4 separate regions of the Homo sapiens genome follow, and regions 2, 3 and 4 are each linked to region 1. Evidence: promoter capture Hi-C in 16 types of primary human blood cells and fetal thymus (Javierre and others, 2016). All regions are on one chromosome and are shown on one strand. Each heading gives the region's core, a stretch centred on a gene start or on the middle of the fragment in contact. The rest is flanking DNA. Distances are from core to core; before and after follow the strand shown. Region 1 holds the start of SLC24A3 (solute carrier family 24 member 3). Region 2 overlaps SLC24A3 (solute carrier family 24 member 3). Region 3 overlaps SLC24A3 (solute carrier family 24 member 3). Region 4 overlaps SLC24A3 (solute carrier family 24 member 3).

Region 1 (3,031 bases), core at 295-2,794:
TGACCTTGCTGTCCCCGGGCGCTGTCAGGGATTGTCTGGGAGGAGGTCGGGGGGGGTAGGTCAGTCACAGGTGGGGACACATTTGAACAGACCTAGACAGGGGAGCCTTATACAGAGGTTCTCTGCTTCCTTCCCACCTCCTTAGGGTATGAAGCTAGATTCCCTGATCTGAATGGATTCCATGGAGACAGTCACCTAGACAGACACCTGGTTTCAGGTGATCCCTTTCTGGACAAGGTCTTTTGTTTTCAGCGCCCCCCCACCCTCCGCCCCAACAATGGCATCTCCTCCTCAGCCCAGCCAGCAGCCCCAGGCTAGCATCTGGGAAGAGTCCAGGGAAGCCCAATGAGGGAGAGTGGGCTGTGTCTGGGATGGCCAGGGATCCCCTCCAAATGGGCACCTGCGGCAGGTCGTGAGTCCAGCCATCTCTAGGGCAGCCCACACCTTCAGCAAGGAGGGGCAGGAGACCTAGAATGGGGGAAATGGGAGGACTAAGATTCTAACGTTGGAGGTAGGGCAGGCTGGTGTTACCTGCACAAGGCCAGAAGCCTCTTCAGGCCGCCTCTCCAGGGACCGTGCCAGCTGTCCCCACTTCGATCAGCCACAGTATTGGACTTGGTCCAGCACGAACAGAAAGCGAAGTGTGAGCCCAAGACAGAGGGGGGAGCCGGACACCCTTATGGAACTAACAGCCTCTGGGGAGGCCTGTTCCAGATCCCGAGTCGGGCGCACAGGGGGATCCCCGCAAGGGGGCAGAGGGAAACCCGGGAGGCCCGCGAGAAGAGGCGAGGCCAGAGGCTGGGCGCGGGCAGCCAAGCGCACTCGCGGCGCCCCGACTCCAGGTAGCACGTAGAGAGGAGGCTGAAGAGCCCCTCGGTTTTCCGAAAGTTTCCAGCGAATCCTTCTTGGTGAAGATCGGCCTCTGGGAGGCAGCGTGTGTGCTTCCCGAGAGGGGGCCCCCTGCGCCGTCCCTCTTCCCCTGGCACAGAAGGGTTGAAGGACTGCACACAGGGATCCCTCCCCAGCCCAGTCTCCTCCCAGCGCGCCCCCTCCCCGCCATGCCGGCCAGCGCCGGGCTGTGTCCCAGGCACTGCCCCCCGCCAACCCTGGCCCGACCAGCCTCGCCGCTGCAGGCTGCCGGGAGCTGCGCTAGCTCATGCTCCCAGCTCGCTCGGTGCTCCCTGTTCGCTCCGGCCCGGCCCCGGCCCCCATCGCGCCGACCATGGAATAGGCGGGCGGCCCCGCGAGGCGCTCCTGCAGCCGGCGAGGCCAGAGCCAGTCCGGGGTGGCTTTGCCAACCGGCGGAGTTGGCCAGCGGCGGGCCCTCCTACCGTCGGTCCTTCCCCGCTCCTCCTCCTCTGCCCCCTCCGCCCCCGCCTCCCGGCCGCCCCCGCCGCCCCCGCCGCGCCGCCGCCCCAGGCCGAGCGCGGGCGCGGAGCGTGGGAGCCATGGCGCGCGAGGAGGAGCGGGACCCCGAGCGCCGGGAGGCGGCGGCGCGGGCGAGCGGCGAGGAGGAGGAGGAGGGAGGGGAGGAGGGACTGGGCGATAGCGACGAGGAGGGCGACGACGAGGAGACGGGCAGCGGCGAGGAGGAGGAAGAGGAGGCGGAGGCGGCGGCCGGGTGGGAGCGCAGCGAGGACGCGCGGCTGCTGCGCGCAGGGCTGCCTCCTGCCGCTGTCCCCGCCGCGGCCGCCCGCGACAGGAGCGGCCGCCGCCCGCCGAGGCCGCCGCCCGGCCGCCCGAGGATGCGGCCGTCCGGCGACGAGGACCGCGCGCGTCGCCGCCGCCGCCGCCGCCGCCGGAGGGACCTTCTGCTGAGCCAGCTCTGCTTCCTGGCCTCGGTGGCGCTGCTGCTCTGGTCGCTGTCGAGCCTGCGAGAGCAGAAGGGTGAGTGCACGCTGCCTGCCCCGAGTGGGCGCTGCGGCTCCGGCGGCTCGGGGCTCCCGGGGCTGGGCGCGGGGCTCCTTCGGGCGGCCCGGCCGGAGCCCCAGGATAAGCGGGCTGGGTTGGCGGGGGGAGTGGGATGCCAGGCACGAGGACTCCCCCTGCCCCACGCAGAGGCATGGAGGTGGGGACCCTGAGCGCCAGCAGCCAGCAGGCTTAGGCGTCTGGCCGCCCTGGGAACATTTACCTGTGCCCGCCTGTGCGCTGCTTACTCGCGAGCTGGAGGTACTGCTGGTGGCGGTGGTGGGGAGTCTTACTCTCCATCAGCCCCCAAGGCCAGGGATAAAGTTGTGGTGGTAGACCCGGCACCTGTGCAGGTGACCACCTGTATACTCCTTGGCTTGCTGAAGGATTCAAGGGGACTGCTTAACACACAGTTGTCCGTATGTTCTCCATCCAGAGAGCAGGCGGGATGGCCCGAGTAGAGAGCTCTTCAACCCCCTTTCAGAACAGGTGCCGGGAACTTCAGGGAGAGAAAAAGTGTTGGCCCTCCAGCTATGGGCTAGTAGGGGACTTGTTCTCCTAAAATGACCACTCACTGGGAAGACAGGGAATTCTTCCTCAGAGGTCCCTTTTGCAGAGCTGCTGCTGTGGAAGAAATGGTTTGCAGTGGACCACGCATCACACTGTCCGCTCCTCTACCGGTGCTCTGCGCAAAGTCTGCCCTTTAACCCACAACTTTTGTCTTGTCTTTGTCCTTGGCCTTTCTTGAGCTGAAATAGATCTTGTGTGCTCCCAACAGTTGTCTGCTGAAACAGCTTCGATCCTGGGATTCAGCTGTCTATAAAATGAAGGAAAAACATGGGAGAATAACTGTTGTAAAATGGTTTTATATCCCGGCCGTGGAAGTGGCACGATTAGTGGGAAAACAGCCATGTAAAGGGTTGTGAGAAAGAAACAAAACAAAACAAAACAAACAAACAAAAAAACAGTTACAAGTATGTGCTGTGGTGTTGAGGTCGACGTAGCTCTAATGCAAGATGTCATGAGGTGCAGAATAAAGACATTTTGATAGTCACCGTAAAATATTTTCAAAGGTGCCATGAATTTAAAAAGGGATCTCCCCCAGCTTGGCTGGTCTCCTGCT
Region 2 (3,031 bases), core at 267-2,766, 300 kb after region 1:
TGATGGCTGTTGTGATTGATACATTAACTCAGCATCCCATCTCTAGCTTCCAGCTCTGAGACTAGGAGAACAATAGGAGAGGTGACCTTTCAACCCTAGGACTGGCCAGTGCCAAAACACCCTGTGGCAGCTACACTGAAAAATGCAAAGAAAAAAAAAAGCCTATTGCTTCTCCTCCAGGAGAGTGGCAGCTGAATGTAAATCAGGTCAAATCCTCTTTTGGAGGAGGTCACAGAAGGAAGAAGTCAGAGGGCAGAATGGAATTGCAGATCCATGCAGTAGGGGGGTGGCATGTGTGAGGGGCGTCCCCAGCCCTGGGTTTGCTGGGTGTGCAGCCCTTCTCCCACTTTCCAGCCATGGAGCCCAAGCATGTTGCCCCATCTGTCTTCCCCTTGGGTTCCTCATCTACAGAACTGGAATAATAATCTGTTTGTGAGGATAAGATGGGATCACAGGGGCAAAGTGCAAGGTACAGTGCTTGCCAGGAGCAGGTGCTCAATAAATGCTCACTGTTGTCATCCCTCTGCCCCTCACATTAATTTCCAGATCGTGGCTTCATTTTGGTCCCCAAGGGAAACTCCTCCAGGCTTCTCCCAGTTTATTCATTGTTCAGAGGGGCTCTGTGCAGCCTGTTTAGAGCAGCTTCAGCTTAGAAAAATCCTCCCATAATCATGATGTTCCTGTCTTTTCTTGTCTCCTTTTTTATGTTTAAAGGACCATACAAAACTAGAGATTGTGATTGGCTAGACACACAGGTGGGTCTTGCTTTTTTTTTAGAAAAAAAAAAAAAGCCTTTTTGAGATATTATTGACGTATAAAAATTGTATATGCTTAAGGTATACAACTTGATCTTTTGATATACAGATACATTGTGAAATGTTAACCACATTTCAGTTCATTAACGTATCCATTACCTCTACATAGTTATCATTTATGTGTGTGTGTTTGTGTGTGTGTGTAGTGAGAAGATTTAGATCCATCCTCTTCGCAAGTTTCAAGTATATAATGTAGTATTTTTAACTGTCCCCCACTTGCTGTACTTTGGAAGGTGAGCCTTGCTTTATGTACTAGACGTACCCTTTGGCCCAAACACTTCGTGTGGCTCCAACCCAATACCTGCACAATGCCTTAAGCCAATGCTGCCTTGGATGCAGAGAGCAGAGCCTTTTCAAGCAGTGACCGATGGCTTGTGTCTTGCACAAATCCTCCGGGCAAGCCAGGGGTCCCCAGCAGAACTGGGCCTGGATGTCTCAGAGGTCATCCACTCACTCCTTAGCAGCACTGTCTTTGTCTCTTCTCCCCTTCCTGGCTGCACTGCCTCCCTCATGCACAGTGCATCCTGGAGTCATCTCCCAAGTAAACCACATAGCTCCACATCCTTGTCGGAGGGTCTGCTTTTAGAGGAATCCAAAATAAGACAGGTGGCAAGCAGGTATCATCTAGCATATCCTCCCCATCAAATGGTGGTGGTTTCTCTAAGAACTTGCTAGAGAAAGACTTGGAGACATCATCAAGCTCAGAGGGAAAGACTTCTTTCAGCAGCTGGTGATGTCTGCCCATGTGGGGCTGTGGGTGGGGGTGGTGTGTGCTGCTTCCTGCCGCGCCTGGTGGGCACATCCTCCAGCAAAGGAGCCGTGGATTCCTATCGGAGGGACCACAGGAGGCTTCATAAAGGAGAGGAGATGTGAGAACCTGGCCCAGAAGGTTGATTGGATTTTATGAGAGGAAGGGACAGGAGGCCTGGTTAGTGGTGGAGGACCTTCTTGGGACCGTCAGTTCACAGACTCCAGCTTTCATCTCAAGGCAGAAAGGTTTTGGAACATTGAGAAGGCATGAACATCCCTGTGGTTGGCATTCTGGTCCAGCCACAAATGGAGGTCAACTTAGAAAGGGGAGCAGAGGGAGGGAGCAGGGAGGGGGTTGTTCTAATAGCACACGAGGCCCACACCCTAAGCCAGGTCAGGCAAAGTGGAAAAGGAGCAAAATGAAGACCCACTTAGAGCAGGGGCTTCAAATCTGTCTGAGCCACAGACCCTTTTGGTGATCCAGTGAAGCCTACAGCCCCCGCTCAGAAAAGCAGTTTTCAATGCATGCATGCAGCAAAGTACATAAGGTTACACATGGAAACTGACTGTGTGGAAATGAAGCTGTCAAAGTATTAGAAAACAAATTTGCAATATAGTAGTTCACGTGCTTCCTCATTAACACTTTAAGTCACAGGTGGTGACCTAACAACCACCATAAGATTGAAGCAGTGGGTGAGAGCTGCACAAGTATGATGGTATGACGTGTTATGAAAATATCTGTGGGGCCGAGCCCCAGGTTCTGCTAACGCTACTGTGGTTGGTTGCCCACGTTCTTATCTGAAGGAAACACTAAATTCTGGTTAGTTTTGTGAACTTAAAGATTCAGGATCTTTTTTTCATCCAAGTTCATGGACCCCATGTTAAAACCAAGACTCCCAGACCTACAGCACTGAAAATGTGGTCACCTGTGCTGAGACGGTTTTCTTTCTCTGTTCTTTAGCCCTGCATGAATTCCCCAATGACATCTTCACAAACGAGGATAGAAGACAAGGTGCGGTGGTCCTCCATGTGCTCTGTGTAAGTACCCCTCTGTGCCTCTGCCTGGAGGGTCCATAGGCTAGGCCTAGGGGTGTGGGGTGTGGCACCTGAGGTGCCCCCAGTAGATTCTCTCTGCCCTCCTGTTCCCACGCTGCCTGGTGGGGGTCCTTCGAGCTCTGTAGGGGGCCATCACCAAATGGAGATGAAAGACCACAGCTTTCGAAGGTGGAGCCATCTGTTATGCACTTTCCCTTCATGTTAGTGCCCAGAGTGTGGACTCTAAAGTCAAACAGCCCCACTCTCCATGACTTAACCCTACTCTCTGCTCAAACACCACCCTCTTGGGGAGCCCTTTCCTAACTGGCCTTTCTGAAATGCCGCCATATTTCCTCTTACCCTGCTTTGTTTTCCTCCATGCTATCTGCCATTGCATAGTTATTTGCTTTTCAACTTTTCACCCTCACTCA
Region 3 (3,031 bases), core at 392-2,891, 280 kb after region 1:
ATTGTTTTTGGTGTCTAATTCAAATTTGGTTATGTGCTGTAGGTCAGTTTCCAGGGTGCACAGCCTGGACTAGGGTCTTCCTGAGCCTGGAATTTGGGACAGAAGGAGCTAGACCCACTCATCCAGCTTTGGGCTGCAGTGACTTAGAGGGATTAAGAGGCAAATCTTGCTCTGGCCATCCCGAAAAGGCTAGAGGACTCACCTCTGATGCATTTTACAATTCAAAGGGATGCCCCATTCCTTTGGAGACTTAGAACAAAAGCCAACTGAAGAGGTTGTCTCGGGTTGGGTCCCCAAGACAGAGATTCTTGTGCAAGTCATTCATTGTTGGAGAGATCTCCAGAGAAAAGGAGTGAGAGAAACAGGATCAGGCAGGAAAGGAGGCAACAAAGGAGTGGTGTTGGCTGCAGACCAGCCTCAGGTGGATCCCAGGAGACCATGGAGTGTGAATGGCACCACAGAGCTGTCCTGCCTTGAGGCAGGAGCTGGCCTTTGTACCCTAGTGTCTACCACCCCTCTTGGAGTGAGGACTTAATCTTCTAGGCATTTCTGGGTGAGGTTGCATGCACTGGCCAAGTGCAACTCTGGAGAACTTACTCTTAGCCTTTATCAGGAGCTGGATGCATCAGCCCCAGAAAGGGTTTCTGAGCGGGCACCAACAGCATCTACAAGACATAGTCATGTGGTTGTCCTGCCTGTACTTTGCATTGGACTGGATGTACAAGTTCTTGTCACCTTTACAAGGAGACATCATTCATCTGTCTATGAGAACTCCCTTTCCTTTCCAGCCCTTTCCTTCTCAGCTTTTAGACATGTTTTGTAAAAGTAGGGGAAGGGGTGGATACATAAGTGAATGTAGCTGGTCAGACATGAACGCCTCGCTCTGTAGAGCATCGCCAGCTGTGGATGTAGCCGCTCAGCTATTCATCCAGGCTTGTTAAAATATTAGAGCATAAAAAGGCTGATTTCATTCGTTGTATGGCAGTACAGCTTCCCTCAGGAAAGGCAAGGCTGGCCAAAATGTGTGTGGTCCATACCTTTTGGGTGGATGATATTTGCAAGACTTGACTCCCTCGGCTGTGCCCAATCTTGCCCTGACCATTCACTTCACTTCTTGCCTTTTCTCTAGAACTTCCCTTTCTGTTATTTGGAAATGGTCACAGAAAAGTACAATCTTTTCCATTCTGAAACCCAACTTGCCATTTTCTTCCATACCATGTGGTTCTAATATCCACATCCTCCACAGCACCCCAGATTTCAGGCTGGGCATCCTGTTGTCACCTGAGTCTGCGCCTGCTTCCAACACACCAATACATAGCCACACAGTGGATTCTGTTTGGCTCTTTGGATCTGAGTTTCCGGCAAAAACAAGATTTTTTTTAAAAACAATGTGACAGAAGAACATAGAAATGTCTGGAACGTGTTCAAGCCAGTGAAAACACTGAGAAGACACTCTCCCTGCCGCCTCTCAGTGCAGACGAGTCAGACATGCCTCTGGGACACCCCGGCTCCCTTTGGCTGGCACAGGGAATGGAAACTTTGGCCACGGGTGGTTGTTTCTGTGGCTTCTGCACTTCTGGCCTCACCCGCTTCTCACTGATGATTTCGCAGAGTAAGCCTAGTCTAGCATCAGTCCATCCTCAACACCAGCCAGCCGGTCTCCATGCAGCAAGGCCCGATAGGCATGCTGGAGTCTCAACAGGAAATGTGCTTTTCCACTGAGCAAAAACAGACACTCAGGAGCTGATGGGCTGTGGAGTGATGTGCATGGTTCACTCAGGACCCTGTCACATTAAAGGAGCATATGAAGCCATATCCCCACATAGCTCAGGGATGTGGGGAACAAGTTGCTGTCCATCGCCCACCCTCCAGCCTGCACTCCTGTGGTTGGATTCCCAATCTCTGTAGCAATTTATTGCAGGATTCCTTTGGAATGATCAAGAGAATGTTTGTGGAAGAAGCAGCATTTGTGTGGCTCCTGAGTTAGCCTGGGTTGCCAGAACCTGAGCCTGGCATGAGCATTCCCGTGAAAGCCATGTTGGACATGCTTCTTGGAAAAACTGGTCAGAGAGCACATAGTGTGATCAGGAAAAGGTAGGAGGTCAAGAAGGGCACGGTGTCAAGCAGAGTCCCACAGAGAGGAACTTCAGCACAACCGAGCCCTGGGTGCTGGCTCCTGAGTGTAGAAGCACTCTGGGAGCTGGAGTTAGCAAAATGGTAAAGGGCTTTCCAGGGAGGAGGACAGAACCCTGACTGCCAGCTTCAGTTCCATTATAGCAACTTTCAGAGGAGTTTGTGGGAGCAATAACAGCACCAGGCCTGTTCTTCCCCAGTGTCTAAACTTCTTTCTGTTGTAAGCTGAGCTCTTTTGCAAGCCCCAGTATCAACTCCTTCTGCCTTCTCCTTGTGAGTTCCAACACACTAAGTAGACATTAGGGTACCAGCCATTTACCCCATGGGGTACCAGCGATTTGCCCCATGGCCGTAAAATGTGCACATGATAAAAAAGGGCCCTGGGGCATAGAAAGAGTCCCTACAAAAGGTGCCAACATGCTTTCCATCAGGATGTATCTCAGGCAACAGGAGAATCTGAGTCAGCTCCCAGCTCATTCTTAGCCCATGACAAATGTTGAGACACAAGTAGACATTTCCGGCACTCAAATAAGGCAAGAACTCCAAACCAGTCCCTTTTTGGGTAGAAGGGGCTAGGACCGTTTCATCTGAATAGGAAGCTCTAGTTGGAGAAAGATACTTACCGCAAGGCCTGCAGTGAGGAGCAGAATCCCAGACGCTATGTCCTCCGGGGTCATGTTTCTCCAGCCCAAGGCTTAGTAAAAGGCTAATTAGGAAGTTGGCCAATTTTAGTCTCGGGTCCCATTTTGGGCTCTAATGTACTGTGAAATGTAATGCAATTCCACATGTTTTGCAGATGCTTGGTGCAGTCATTTCTTTGGGAAAAAACAAGGTTAGGGTTTGCACATTTTTTCCCCTTTGAGCCTGGGGAGAAACGTGAACTAAACCACGTCTAATG
Region 4 (3,031 bases), core at 186-2,685, 260 kb after region 1:
ACAGTTCACAATAGAGGTGACCAGGAAATACACACGCCCCATAAAAATCACATCCAGGCTGGGCGCGGTGGCTCACGCCTGTAATCCCAGCACTTTCGGAGGCCGAGGTGGGAGGATCACAAGGTCAGGAGATCGAAACCATCCTGGCTAACATGGTGAAACCCCATCTTTACTAAAAATACAAAAAAATTAGCCGGGCGTGGTGGCGGTTGCCTGTAGTCACAGCTACTCGGGAGGCTGAGGCAGGAGAATGGCATGAACCAGGGAGGTGGAGCTTGCAGTGAGCTGAGATCGCGCCACTACACTCCAGCCTGGGCAACAGAGTGAGACTCTGTCTCAAGAAAAAAAAAAAAATCACATCCAAGGCAGAGAATGGCCACCATTCCCATTTCCATTTACCGTTTTAAAGGGCCCAATGGATGGCTATTGTAAATACAAAGATAACTGCTATTATTTGCAGATAATATGATAGACCTAGAAAATCATGAGAATCTAGTGATAATCTCTTAAAATTAATAAGAAAGTGTTAATGATTGAACATAAGATAAATATGCAGAAACTAATAGTTCTTCCAGTTACTGGACATGACCAGTTAGAAGATACACTCAATCTTTTATTTGCATTATAATGACAAAAAAAGAAATAATAAAATAAATAGGAATTGACTTTAATCTTGCACAACCTATATAAAGAAAACTATTTTAATTAGTATGTGTTCTTGGGTGAAGGATGGAAACTTATTTTTAAATCATTTTTTCAGTTTAATTTAAAAATTCCAAAAATTTATTTTTAGATTTACCTAAAGACCTGAAAATATTCTGATGGAGAGCAACAAAGAAACATTTTCTTCCTACTCTATACTTGGAAATGTGTTTTGGGTTTTATTAAAACTACAGCATCAAACCAAACCAATGAGTAGTGTGAAGGAGATAGCCCAGAACTGACATTAGGACTTGAGCCTAATCTATAACAATGGGAATAGCCTTGGCCAAATCAGACAGAAGGACAGTTTAGCAAAGCATGTGGGAAAATAGGCAAATGACTTGGGAAAACTCACTGTGGATGTAACATCCTCCTTGATCTCCCATTCTTCTGTCAGACCCACGCGATCCACTCCCAGGCCGGAGAGCTAGAGTCCTCTGCCTGCCCAATGTCTTCCTTGCTGGTGTTGCAGCTGGTTATATAAATGCCTTCAGAGATTCATTCTGGTGAGCAATTGATATTAATCTGAGATGTTGGTAGTTAAAAATAATATGTCCGAGCTTGCCTCAGGTGTAAATCCTGGACTTGATGAAAAACAGAAGTAAGGCCATCCCTGATGTTCTTACTGGTTAGCGAATGACTTTTCTTCCTGCTGTGCAATATTAAATGTAGGCCTCAATGTAAAATGCAAAACCATAAAATTCCTGGAAGGTAACATAGGAGAAAATTAGGTGACTTTAGGTTTGGTGATGATCTTTTAGATCAATACCAAAAACATGATCCATGAAAGGAAAATTTGCTAAGCTGGCTTTCATTGAAATTCAAAACCTCTGCTCTGTGTAAGACACCATGAAGAGAATAAAAAGACAAGCCACAGACTAGGAGAAAAATCTTGGCAAAGTACATGTCTGATAAAGGACTAGCATTCAAAATATGTAAAACTATACAACATATTGTCGGAGAGAGTTAGGTGAATGCTTGAAGATGGTTGCTTCAGAAAGGAGGGAAATCCAGTTGAAAGTATGGGGCCTTCCGTAGCAAGGATGTCAGTGTCCATAATTATGGGAACCCAGGCAGGGCTCCTCTCCCAAAGCACAAAAAATTCCAGAGGCATCCACCAGAGGAGGAACGATAGCACAGCAATGCCTGCTTGCTCATTAATCTTCTCTCCCTCTGATTCTTTTGCCCTCCTCTCTCTTCTGGGCACTATAAGGGCATTTTCGAGACTTAGAAACAAATAATAATGCAAGGAAGGTAAGGGCTCGTTTTTCTTGCTGTGGGTAAACCCTACGGGTGTCAGCTGAGCTGGGGTGGGATAAATGCAAGACGAGGACTGGTGCCTAGCCATAGTAAGGACTGTGGTCCTCACTCTGCTGACAGCTGAGCTGACACAGGGCTATTAACCAGGCAGACGCAAGCAGAAGAGACTGGGAAAGGAAGTACTCCTTCTTTATAATGGATCCAGCAGGTGGAACTCCTAGGACCTGCCAGATGGCAACGAGGTGAGGAAGAGTGGAGGCACTGCTGAAGCAAGCAGGAGATGGGCCTCCAAATTTGGAAACTGGCTGGACCCTGGGCTGGGTCAAGCCTGAGGAGGCCAAAAGATTCCAGATCCTCTGTTCTGAGCTTGTGTGGATGCCACTAACGTTTACAGGAATAACAAATCCAGGAGAAAGAGGCAGGTGTTTGCAACTGGTAGAACCTGCAGGGAGTAGATCGCCAATTTATTTGGAGGCAAGCTAAGTCCAAAAAAGGTGAGATTTTAATAGCAGATAAAGTCATTACCCAGAAGTATTTTTGAGCTACAAAATTTCTCTTCCACAGTGTAAGTGTGTGGAAGGAACTCAACAGAGAGAGATCAGTGCTTCATCCAGAGTTCAGCATCACAGACACCACAGTCCTTGGATAGGCAGAGAGTTTTTGGCTTTTGGTTCAACTCTGGCTCCTCCTGGCAGTGCTATCCTGGCATGAGGGTGCCATGTGCCATGTACCTAAAGTGTCGATGACATCCCAATTAAGGCAAATGGCTTGATTATGGTCTTGCTCCTCTGACAATTTCTCCCATTTGCCAGTCTTACACGTGAATATAGTATACACTGTACCTACTGACTCTACCCTGTGTGATACAAAACCATTAAGACTTGATCCAAAAAGGAACAAAATGGCTACTATTGGGTTTTGCAGGTATTAGAAGTGAATGAAAGAATGGGTTCTCATCTTCACAAAGGACAGTCTATACTGGAGGATAGGAAACTATCCAGAAATAGAATGCCCAGGTCCCTGGACATCAATTCCCCCTTTCGAAAGCCATCAGGAATCCCATCCTCGC

Evidence for each region. The method cuts DNA at HindIII sites, captures the fragments that hold promoters and counts their contacts. A CHiCAGO score of 5 or more calls a contact.
Region 2: a fragment that was not itself captured here is called in contact with the fragment with the promoter of SLC24A3 in region 1 in 1 of 17 cell types (megakaryocytes); the score reaches 6.7 in megakaryocytes.
Region 3: a contact is called between a fragment that was not itself captured here and the fragment with the promoter of SLC24A3 in region 1, in 4 of 17 cell types (megakaryocytes, M1 macrophages, M0 macrophages and 1 more). The highest score is 6.9, in megakaryocytes.
Region 4: a contact is called between a fragment that was not itself captured here and the fragment with the promoter of SLC24A3 in region 1, in 1 of 17 cell types (megakaryocytes). The highest score is 7.6, in megakaryocytes.

What each region holds. Positions count from the first base shown.
Region 1 is chr20:19,211,098-19,214,128 of GRCh38, forward strand. It overlaps SLC24A3 (solute carrier family 24 member 3), which reads left to right and starts at 1,545. Exons shown (of 17, transcript NM_020689.4): 1 at 1,545-1,887. The coding sequence starts at 1,746. LOC101929547 (a long non-coding RNA gene) reads right to left here and starts at 1,371. Exons shown (of 3, transcript XR_007067549.1): 1 at 532-1,371. RefSeq lists a silencer at 1,896-1,945. The HindIII fragment of the contact is 7,870 bases long and covers 1-3,031 here.
Region 2 is chr20:19,512,962-19,515,992 of GRCh38, forward strand. It overlaps SLC24A3 (solute carrier family 24 member 3), which reads left to right. Exons shown (of 17, transcript NM_020689.4): 3 at 2,527-2,603. Among named protein-coding and RNA genes, the nearest start is that of SLC24A3-AS1, 230 kb to the left of the region's middle. The HindIII fragment of the contact is 3,344 bases long and covers 1-3,031 here.
Region 3 is chr20:19,494,595-19,497,625 of GRCh38, forward strand. The region is part of intron 2 of SLC24A3 (solute carrier family 24 member 3); the gene reads left to right. Among named protein-coding and RNA genes, the nearest start is that of SLC24A3-AS1, 210 kb to the left of the region's middle. RefSeq lists an enhancer at 2,053-3,031. The HindIII fragment of the contact is 3,454 bases long and covers 1-3,031 here.
Region 4 is chr20:19,475,001-19,478,031 of GRCh38, forward strand. All of the region lies in intron 2 of SLC24A3 (solute carrier family 24 member 3), which reads left to right. Among named protein-coding and RNA genes, the nearest start is that of SLC24A3-AS1, 190 kb to the left of the region's middle. The HindIII fragment of the contact is 6,432 bases long and covers 1-3,031 here.